Linked DNA regions of Homo sapiens: all the other regions are linked to region 3. The links are contacts of gene promoters, found by promoter capture Hi-C in blood cells and fetal thymus (Javierre and others, 2016). All regions are on one chromosome and are shown on one strand. The core of a region is centred on a gene start or on the middle of the fragment in contact, and the rest is flanking DNA. Distances in the headings are between cores, read along the strand shown.

What was found. The method cuts DNA at HindIII sites, captures the fragments that hold promoters and counts their contacts. A CHiCAGO score of 5 or more calls a contact.
Region 1: a fragment that was not itself captured here is called in contact with the fragment with the promoter of LDB3 in region 3 in 1 of 17 cell types (M0 macrophages); the score reaches 7.3 in M0 macrophages.
Region 2: a fragment that was not itself captured here is called in contact with the fragment with the promoter of LDB3 in region 3 in 1 of 17 cell types (M2 macrophages); the score reaches 5.0 in M2 macrophages.

Annotation. Positions count from the first base shown.
Region 1 is chr10:86,878,055-86,881,683 of GRCh38, reverse strand. All of the region lies in intron 3 of BMPR1A (bone morphogenetic protein receptor type 1A), which reads right to left. Among named protein-coding and RNA genes, the nearest start is that of MMRN2, 78 kb to the left of the region's middle. The HindIII fragment of the contact is 1,246 bases long and covers 1,212-2,457 here.
Region 2 is chr10:86,894,557-86,897,839 of GRCh38, reverse strand. All of the region lies in intron 5 of BMPR1A (bone morphogenetic protein receptor type 1A), which reads right to left. Among named protein-coding and RNA genes, the nearest start is that of MMRN2, 61 kb to the left of the region's middle. The HindIII fragment of the contact is 9,730 bases long and covers 1-3,283 here.
Region 3 is chr10:86,667,147-86,670,403 of GRCh38, reverse strand. It overlaps LDB3 (LIM domain binding 3), which reads right to left and starts at 1,893. Exons shown (of 14, transcript NM_007078.3): 1 at 1,834-1,893; 2 at 1,620-1,735. The coding sequence starts at 1,712. RefSeq lists an enhancer at 1,713-1,762. The HindIII fragment of the contact is 20,890 bases long and covers 1-3,257 here.

The sequences.
Region 1 (3,629 bases), core at 585-3,084, 210 kb before region 3:
TGATCACATCCTCCTGGCATCATTTAACATGTCCTCTTGTTCTCTATGGATTTTGTAAATGGTAATTAGCTCGAGAGCTGTGCTGTCCAATATGGTAGCCACAAGTCACATGTGTCTATTGAGCGCTGAAATGCAGCTGCTCTGTATGTTGTGGGCAGGAGGGAACCAAATGCCTGCTTATCTCTGTTTTTAAGGTCTAGATTCACTAATTCAATCGGCATAGTATAAAATAATGTATCTAATCCTATCATTTCTCTTTTTTATGACTTGGAATACATCTATGAGATGCTTTCCCTCACCTACTAATTGGATACAGGTGGCACAGTTCATGTTAGAAAGGCAAGATTAATGTTTGATTTCTCCCTCTATTTACCAGTTTTCAAAATTAATGACTTCATTAGCATCTTTTAACAGTAACCAACTAGTTTTGTTTTCTTTTTTTGAGACAGAGTCTTGCTCTGCTGCCCAGACTAGAGTGCAGTGGCGTCATCATTGGTTCACTGCAGCCTCAAGCTCCCGGGCTCAAGTGATTCTCCCGCCCACCTCAGCCAGGAATACAGGCACACATCACCACACTCAGCTAATTAAAATTTTTTTTTTGTAGAGACCAGCTCTATGTTGCCCAGGCTGGTCTCAAACTATTTTTTTTTTAAAGGGACTCTCAGTTTAGCCGTGGATGTTCTCAAACTCTTGAGGCTCAAGTGATCCTCCTGCCTTGGCCTCCCAAGTGTTGGCATGTACAGGTGTAAGTCACAGCCCTCAGCCCTAACTAGTTTTTTTCTTAAGTGTTATTACAAACACGTGGATTTAAACATATTTGATTTGTTTGAATCCACTACAATTAGTATTCAATTCAAACTGGTCACTGAATCCTTTGAACTTTTCCTTGCTTTCTGGCCAAAATACCAAGATCACCTTGCTCTTTCCCTGCCGAACTTGAACTCAGTGATTTCTCCAAGGAGTTCTAGATCCTTAGTGAAAAAAGACAATCAGATACTACAACTGGGTTGTTACAGGTGCTTGTTGTTACTGGGTTGGTCAGTGTAAAAATATATGGCTAAGAAAGCAGCTTTGCAACTTGCTTTTTTCACTTTAACTGTATTCATCCATTAAACCAAAATGTACTGAGTGAGTACACGGTGGTAGCCACTGTTTTAAGCCCTGGGTGACTAGAAGAGTAAACAAAACACAGTCCCATATCTATTAAAGCTTACAGTCTTCGACGGAGAAAGACAATAAAGATGAATAAATACTGACATTTGGTACTATTTTAATATTTATTCATAGGTAAGTGCTACAATACCAAATAAAGCAGGTCATTTTCTAGCATGGGAAAGGAGCAGAGTGCCTCAGAGCGGAGGTCACTAAACCAAAGGCCAGGAGAACAGGCAAAGCAGAGGCCAGTGGCTAGGTCAGAAATTCTCAGAACACACATCAAGACAAGATATTTAACTGTGTTTAATGGAGTGAAACCAAAGAGATCAGAGCAAACAGAATGTAGGACCACTACAACTTTACAGGAACTGTACTTCCAAAGATATCCCAGGCTGACTCAGTCAGGCTGTGAGTTTTCAATCCATAGGACAATTTCCAGTAATCAGACCTCCATACTAACAGAAAGCAGGCCGCTAAAGCTGTTCAGTCTCCACAAAGATCATCCTCCACTAATTCCAGCTCAGATGTGACCATGAAGACAGAAACACTAGCCAAGGAACACCAGAGACAAGGCAAATCCTCCCAGAAAATAAAACTGGAGGCTGACAAACAGGTTAAGCATCATTAATCTACATGCTATGGAGCAGTGAATACTGAGGTTGTTTCCAATTTTTCTTCCTCTGAATGGAAGTTTTATATAGTACTTATCCCACTTCATCTTTATCACTGGATACTGGATATACTGTGCACTGATAATTGCTTTTAGCCACACACTGCTGGACCATGAAGAGGCACCTGGACCCGAAGGAGAGGGCTTCCCACCAGCCAGAAGTCCTGGATTAGTAGCTGCATGTACTAAATGGATGCAACTCTGGGGTATAGAACCCTTTGAAAAGGAACTGAAAATTTCATAGCAACATGAGCATTTTAGCATATGTATGATGTCAGGTCAACAAATGTGGTACCCAGCAACAGATACTCTTATTCTTCTCCTCCTTCCCTTGCTGGCAACAGGCATGTGCACATGTACACACACATTAAGGGTCTGCCCCTCCTCCACGTGATTCAGGGAAGCGCAGCCCTCTACTCTCAGCAGAGATAATCGTTGGTCTAATCCAACAATTTTAGTTCCATTCCCCTTGCCAGTGATTTAACACAAGAGCATATAATGAATTTTGGCCACTAAGATTAGAAGGAAGTCTGTTGGGGAGAGGAAGTGAGTGAATGGGGAAAGATTTATCAATTAAAAAGAGACACAAACAGATTTCCCTCTTCTTTAACTGAGCATTGTCAACTCAAGCTTACCTCATCTGCATGTGATGTCTAGTCTCTCAGCAGCCACACTGTGACACTGTGGCTAACCTGACATTTAGAGATGTCACAGTTGAAAAGACAAAGAACTTGGGTCTTGATGAGCCACATAACCAACTACAGTCCCCTTATATACAGACTTCCTGTGTGTTACTACATGCTCTTTATTGTTCAAACTTTTTTTTAAAAAAATAAAAATCACCTAGCCCAAAATGTCATGTTTAAGCTCTTTTAATTTTTTTTTAATTATTTGTAGAGGAAAACATTCTAATTGATGGAAAAAATTAAATCTCTCCCAGATCCTTTTAATTGTCCAATTGATACCTATTTTCCCCCTTTTCCCAGCTAACCAAACTCTGATTTTGTTTGGGGGAACAACACACCCAGCCCTAGGCAATGGATATAGATTAAGACAATTGTGACAATCCTGTTTCTCTGTTTTCCAGTAGCTCTTGCTATTAGGAATGATTAAGACTTAAGACAAAATCTGTGACACTTTTGCTTTCCTGGTATCAGGTCTAGTTGAGGCCAGTGCTGACCCTTTCCCCGTTTTACCTGCCTCAAATGCAGATAATAGTAACCACTTGGGAACCACAAGGGAAATGTCAAGAAAATTACAGACATGTCAGCCTTGACACTACTCAATAACTGAATGTACAGCAAACATCTACCACCTATGTTAAAAATAAATCTCTATTGAAGTCATTATTAGTTACTTAAAACTAAAATCCATTTCTGAAATTTGTGACAAAATCCAAAAAAGGGACTACATATCTATCCAACATTAATATATCCTGTTGTAAAATTTGTGACCAAGTCTTAAAAAATAAGAACTAAGTATCTATCAGCTGTTAATATCAGATGACTCATTTTTCTGTTCAAACCTAAGTAACTTTATCTCAATGTAAAGCACTTAAATCTATACCCTAACAGTTGATGGTCAAAACATTCTTGTTTATATCTAGGATAAGCATTATTATTTCTATTTTACATCAAGGAAACCAAGGTACAGATAAGTTTATTTTCCTGAGACATAATTCAAAACAAGATAAAGCTAGAGCTAAAGTCAGAAGTTATTTCCATTAATACCATTCTACAATCCTTCCTAATGATCTCTCAGAAATAACTTTTCTACATTGGTTTTAGCTTTAAGAGCAAACATT
Region 2 (3,283 bases), core at 245-2,744, 230 kb before region 3:
GAGCGGAGGAGTCTGAGATCAGGCTGGGCAAAATAGTGAGACCCCATCTCTAAAAAAATTTTTAAATCAGCCAGGTGTGGTGGTACACGCCTGTGGTCCCAGCTACTCAGGAGGCTGAGGTGGGAGGATCACTTGAACCCAGGAGGTTGAGGCTGCAGTGAGCTGTGATTGCACCACTGCACTCCAGCCTGGGTGATGGAGCAATACCCTGTCTTTAAAAAAATCTGCTCTATAGAGTAGTTGGGGGGAAACAAGGTAGAATATACTGAATCCCCAGGATACTATACACATATAACAAATATTCAATAAATTAACTTCCCTTCCTCTTGCTTGACATGAATCCCAGATGAGATTCTAGACTAAGCCAAAAAACTTCTAAGTCCCTAAAGACCCATTGTGGCTTCACTAAGAATAAGCAACACCTGCCTCATCTCACGTCTGTCTTACTCAGGTTAACTATGTATCTGGGTAGGCAAAAATTGGGTTTGTCGAGATTATGAATTTGGGTGACACAGCCTTTCCTTTTCCTGCACTCTCCACCCGTACCCTCTGCCCAAGTCAATTTTGTATTTCTAGACTTATGTGGGGAATATGAATTTTTGTGGGAAACAAATTTACTTGGCACTGATGAATTAAGTGATTCTGACTTAAATAAACTTATTCAGTGTGCTCAGGCTGGAGACAGTATATGAGGAAGGAACTGACGCCAAGTTACAAGGAATGGCAGTGAGGTTTCTGAAAAATAATTTGTCCTATAGGAGGAAACAGAATAAGCACAATTTACCAATGCAGCCTGGGGAGTGGAAGAACGCGAGGCCTGGTGAGAGGCACTCACATCTGTTCTGTGCCACACATGGCAGTGCGTGAAGACACTGGGGAAAGGGTTAGGATGAGCATGACAGAGCTGTGCTTGGGTGAGTGCTGTGCTTGGGTGACGTTTACCAAGAAATACAGAAAGTTAGATAAGTGCTGGTCAAAATGCTTGCTGGCGTAACCCAATTCTTAAAAGCAACGTATCCTTCACGTATTTTTCAGGTGACACTTAAAAATTTTCACCATAAATTTAAATGGCTGCAATATATTAATAATTTCTGGCTTACTGTACATAATGACACTTTGACATAGAATTGTTACCTCATTTTGAAATAGAAGTGTTACATCATTTTTTAATGCATTCAGTAGAATCTAAATAGCATTGCAATTTGATACCCATTATCATCATTTTAAAGAATAAATGAACAAATGCTTCTTTTAGCAATGAGAAATTTTACACTAGAACTCTTATTTCTCCTTGAACTCTTATTTCCTTTCAATATCTCCCATGATAATTACGTCCTAAAGTAATATATAACTGTCCACATCAAAGATAAGTACATAAAAATTCTTTTATTTCCTATAACTGTATGTCTTTAAGTCTTAGAAAATTATTCTAGTTTATCATAATCATTATTAGCATAAAATTGATCAAAACAATATATATGTTACAATCTTCATTAAATACAAACTTAAGAAAATGTTATTGGAAAGGGCATTTTTTCTTTTTCTTTTTTTTTATGATAGAAGATCTAGCTATCACTCCGCACACTAGAGTGGAGTTGCATGATCTCAGCTCACTACAACCTCTGCCTCCCAGGCTCAAGTCATCCTCCCACCTCAGCTTTTTTTTTTTTTTTTCTTTTCTTTTTTGAGACGGAGTCTCGCTCTGTTACCCAGGCTAGAGTGCAGTGGTGCTATCTCGGCTCACTGCAACCTCCAACTCCTGGGTTCAAACGATTCTCCTGCCTCAGCCTCCCAAGTAGCTGGGATTACAGGAGTGTGCCACCACGCCCGGCTAATTTTTGTATTTCTAGTAGAGACGGGGTTTCACCATGTTGGCCAGGCTAGTCTGAAACTCCTGACCTCAGGTGATCCACCTGCCTTGGCCTCCCAAAGTGCTAGAATTACAGGCGTGAGCCACCAGGCCCAGCTAATTTTTGTAGAGATGGGGTTCTGCCGTGTTGCCCAGGCTGGTCTCAAACTTGTGAGCTCAAGCGATCTGCCCGCCTCGGCCTCCAAAAGTGCTGGGATTACAGGCATGAGCCACTGCACCTGGCCAGGCATTTCTTAATGATATGGATGGGACTTTTGAAACAAATCAGTTCACGAATTCATGAATAAAAATTACTGCTAGAGTGAGAAGATTCATCATTAATCTTATTCTTATTTTTCCTTTTGTCATCATCAAGACAATGTATTCACATAAGCAAGATGATGATCACGGAAGGAGACTATTATACCATTGTCCCATAATTTTTTTTTTTTTGGATGGAGTTTCACTCTTGCTGCCTAGGCTGGAGTGCAATGGCATGATTTTGGCTCACTGCAACCTCCACCTCCTGTGTTCAAGCAATTCTCCTGTCTCAGCCTCCCAAGTAGCTGGGATTAAAGGCACGCACCACCACGCCTGACTAAGTTTTGTATTATCAGTAGAGACGGGGTGTCGCCATGTTGATCAGGCTGGTCTCTAAGTCCTGACCTCAGATGATCTGCTCGCCTCGGCCTCCCAAAGTGCTGGGATTACAGGCTGGGGCCACCGTGCCACCACGATCAGCCCATAATTGTTTAAAGTCCTTCCAAAGCATATGCTAAAAGTGCCATAAAGATCCTATCATCGAAAATTATTTTCAATGATCCAGCAACTTGGTTGAAAGCAAACAATTGAAAACCATCTGTCATGTAAACACTTATTTGATATCCCGACATAGCCTACACTGATGCCTTTACTTCGAATTACAACACCGTTTGGAACCTTGAAGTTTTACACCTCAGGCCTTCTATTTGTAAACTAGGAGGGGTTGACTATGAAAAGTGACTAAGGGAAAGAGAACTGCTTGAGAAGTTCTGTTCTCAGGCAGAGAAATATTCAGCAACAGGACCTACTGAAGTTTAGGATCCAAAAACTGATTCCCTTAAAACTATCAACGTGCCCGTTACCCTTGTATAACACAGTCTGAGTGTACCCAGGGATATGGGTAACAGCATGAAGACTGCTCTATTAAAGAATCAATATGGTCAAAGCTAACATCTATTAAGCCCTTACTATGTGCTAATTGTGCTAAACTATTTACATGTATCTCATTTGATCCTCATAGTAATTCCTTCATGGATGAGAAAACGAGAGCAGAGCACCTTGTCCGAAGGTTCACATATATAGTATATAGATTTGAACAGCTTGTCAAGTTTAACAACTAACTTATAATGGTGAATTCAGCTTAGGACAGGCCTACACTAGGGGCCTGTTGAA
Region 3 (3,257 bases), core at 644-3,143:
CACAGAGGCTCCACCTTATACAGGAAGGAGTCCTGCAAGCATGGGGGTGGGGAGCTGTGGGAAAGGGCAGTGGGAAATCCACTGGGGCTCACATGCTCACAGGTCACCACCTCATGCAAAGTGTGCAAGGCTGTGGGTGCCCAGGACCCTGTGGTCTCCAGGGCAGTAGATCTGGAGGGGTGGAATCTCCAGGTTAGAACAAGCCACATCTGCAACTGAAGGATGGAGGTCAGGGCCTGTTCCCTGCACCAGAGCCAGGCCAGCACCCCTCCTGTAAGCATGTGGCCTCTATGGCTATTATAAGGCTCTCACGGCATCCCTGGGTGGGGCTTCTACTTCTGGGGTCCCCTCAAGTACCCGTGGAACAAAAAAAAGATTACTCCTCCACTGGGGGCATTGGCTCCTGACCCGCTGCCCAGGTTCCCTGGCCCCTCTGCCAAGCCCCTTCAGGCCTTGCCCACTTCAGTGCTTCCCCTCCAACCCCTTCCTCCAGCCCCCAGGCCCAAGGCAAGTCCTTAAGGCCCCAGAGAAGAAACTGTCCCCTTGTTCCCCTGGTGGGCAGTAGCCCAGATACCCCTGCCTACCTACCACCCTCCAGTGACAGACTGGGGGCCTCCCCCTCTGGCCTTGTGCCCGGAACAGCACGGTCAGGGGCTCAGCCACCAGGCAGGGTTGTCCTTGCCCTGTATGCCTCACAGTTCGCCCTGAGCCTTGGGGCCTTCAGCCCTGGGTCTACCAGTGCCTTGCTGGGGAGTCTCTTTGTTTGACAGAAACTGACGGAGTGCCTACTACGGTCTGGGGGCTGTTCCCCCATCAGTCCCTGCTCCTGGAGTGCTTCCTCAGGAGCATGGCTAACTTTCTGCCTCTCTGGTGTTGCTGTCTCCAGCCAGGCGGTAGAGTTACTCAGACAACCCCTGATGTTCTGTGTCATCTGCATCAGGCCATGCTGCTCCCCATCACAGACACTGCAGGATAGGGGGCCATCTCACCAGGCCCCAGCACTTGTGGGGAACAAGACCTGAGACAGACAAAGCAGCCATGGTGAATGGGGAGAAGCGCCCAGCCCCATGAGCCAGGGTCTTGGTGTCTCAAGTTTGGGATGGAGCAGGTGCCCAGTACTCAGTCCAGCCCAGCCCCACACTCTGACAGCTGGGCAGCCAAGGTCAACCGTCTGTCTGTCCATCTATCCAACTGCCCATCACCTGCCCTCTCCATGCTGGGAATACTCCCTTCCCAAAGCAGCTGCCCATATCTAGGGAAATGCTCAAGGCTTGGGGGCACCCTGAGCCCACTCTAACAGTAAAGGGATCAGGAAGGTGCTGTACTCTCTGTCCAGCTACCTGCCTGCCTGCCTGCCTGCCTGCCTGAAAACTCAGCATTTTCTTCTCTGCTAAAAACACCTACCACCTGCTCATGATGTCTCACATGCATAACAGGCCGGCGCGCTCCAGTGAGCAAACAGCTGTGGCTGAGACCAGAGGACCAGGCCAGTCCCAGGGGATGGGGCATGCTCTGCTTTCTGAGAGGCTCAGAAAGGACAGACAGACAGACGGACACACATGCCCTCCTCCAAGCGTGCCTGCCCCATCGGGTGCCAGGCTGTGGCAGGGTGCACTCACCCGGGAGATAGTGAGGGGCATGTTGAAGTCCTTGCCCCCCTGCAGACGGAAGCCCCAGGGCCCGGGCCCAGTCAGGGTCACACTGTAAGACATGCTGGTGCTGTCAGCGGCCGCCTCTGCAGACAAAGGGTAGAGAGGGTTGAGTGAGAGGGCACTCAGGCACTCCGCCTGCCCGGTCCACACCTCTGCCCCTGCCCCTGACCCCCAGCCTTGCCTGTTCTGTCCCTTGCTGCCCAGCCGGGCTGCGTGGAGCTCTTGAGAGGCTCCTAAGAATAGCTGGGAGCGAATGCCATCGACACTGATATCTGCCTTCGGCTGCGCCCATAAATGGACTGTAACCCTACACTGTGCCTGCCAGCCTGCCGCCTCCCAGCCGGTCCACCATGACTCACACGGCTAATATAGCCCCTGGGGAGGGGTGTCCGGCACCCAGCACCCCCCAGGGGGGAGGAAGGGGAACTGGCCTGGTTGGTGAGAATGCTCTGGTCTCCTTGCTCCTGTGTCCTCTGGAGAGCGTAGACACTCGCTCTTCCTGCCCAGTGGTACCCATCCTCTTGCTCAGAAGACCAGGGGCTGAGCTCCCTTGGGTAGGGGCTTTGCTGCCGTGTGGTCCCTGGCCAGGATTCTGGGGTTGTGCTTTATCCAGTATGGGGCCCTGGAGGTGCCTTGGCTTGAGCTGAGCCTCCAGCTGGTCTGTGACTGGCCCAGGGTTGTCCAGCCATAAAAACGATCATCATAACAGCAGCTCTGGGCATAGCCAACCTCAGTATGGGCCCTTCACTCCCTGGGATCCTGAGAAGCTGCCACCTGGGCCCGCAGGAGACAAAGCTCAGGGAGGTTAAATGACTTCTCCAAGGTCACACAAGGAGTGGACCCAGGTCACACTGGAGCCTGGGCTGATTCCTACAGAATGCATGCCAGATAATGGGCTCCCAGTAGCCACAGAAGCCTCCCAAAGCCCTGGTCCTGGGCAGCTGGCCCTCTGCCTGCACCCCTTGGCATAGGGTCTGAAAGCAGGTCTGAGGCAGGCCCATCCCCTCCAGACCCTCTGGGGGCCCAGCCAGTTATTCCTGGCTCTCCTGTCTTTGTGCTCTGGAAAACTTGACGGCAGCATGGAAAGCTCCAGCTGCCAGTGCCACACGCCAGGCCCCGTGCCCTTTGCGCAGGAATGGCAGGGGGCAGGGAGAAGGGAGGAGACGCCATTTGCTCAGCTGCTAGACACAGGGCCAGGAGGGGCAGGGAGGGGGAAGCACGTGTGGCATGTTCAGCCTGTACCCCAGAGACAGTGTGTTCTGGATGGGGGCCTCAGCACCTTGGGACTTCTGCCAGTGCGGTCTTTGGGCCAACCCCTTCCCCAAGAAAGACCTCAGGCCCCTATGTGGTCTGGAGATAGATCAAGGCCCACCCTGGCTCCTTGGTTGGAGAAACTGAGGCTCAGGGGAGGCAACTGGGTTGGCTGCTTGCTGGCCCTCTTGGAGGGGTCTGGCTTGGACCCTGAGGAGTCAGTAGAGGCCTGGGTGTGAGTCATTTCTCAGCTTCTAGCCTCACTCCTGGGGCCTGGCACATGCAAGGTACAAGGTAGGATCACCCATATTACGGGGTTGTTTTGTCACTTGCCCAAAGTCACAAAACTATCAA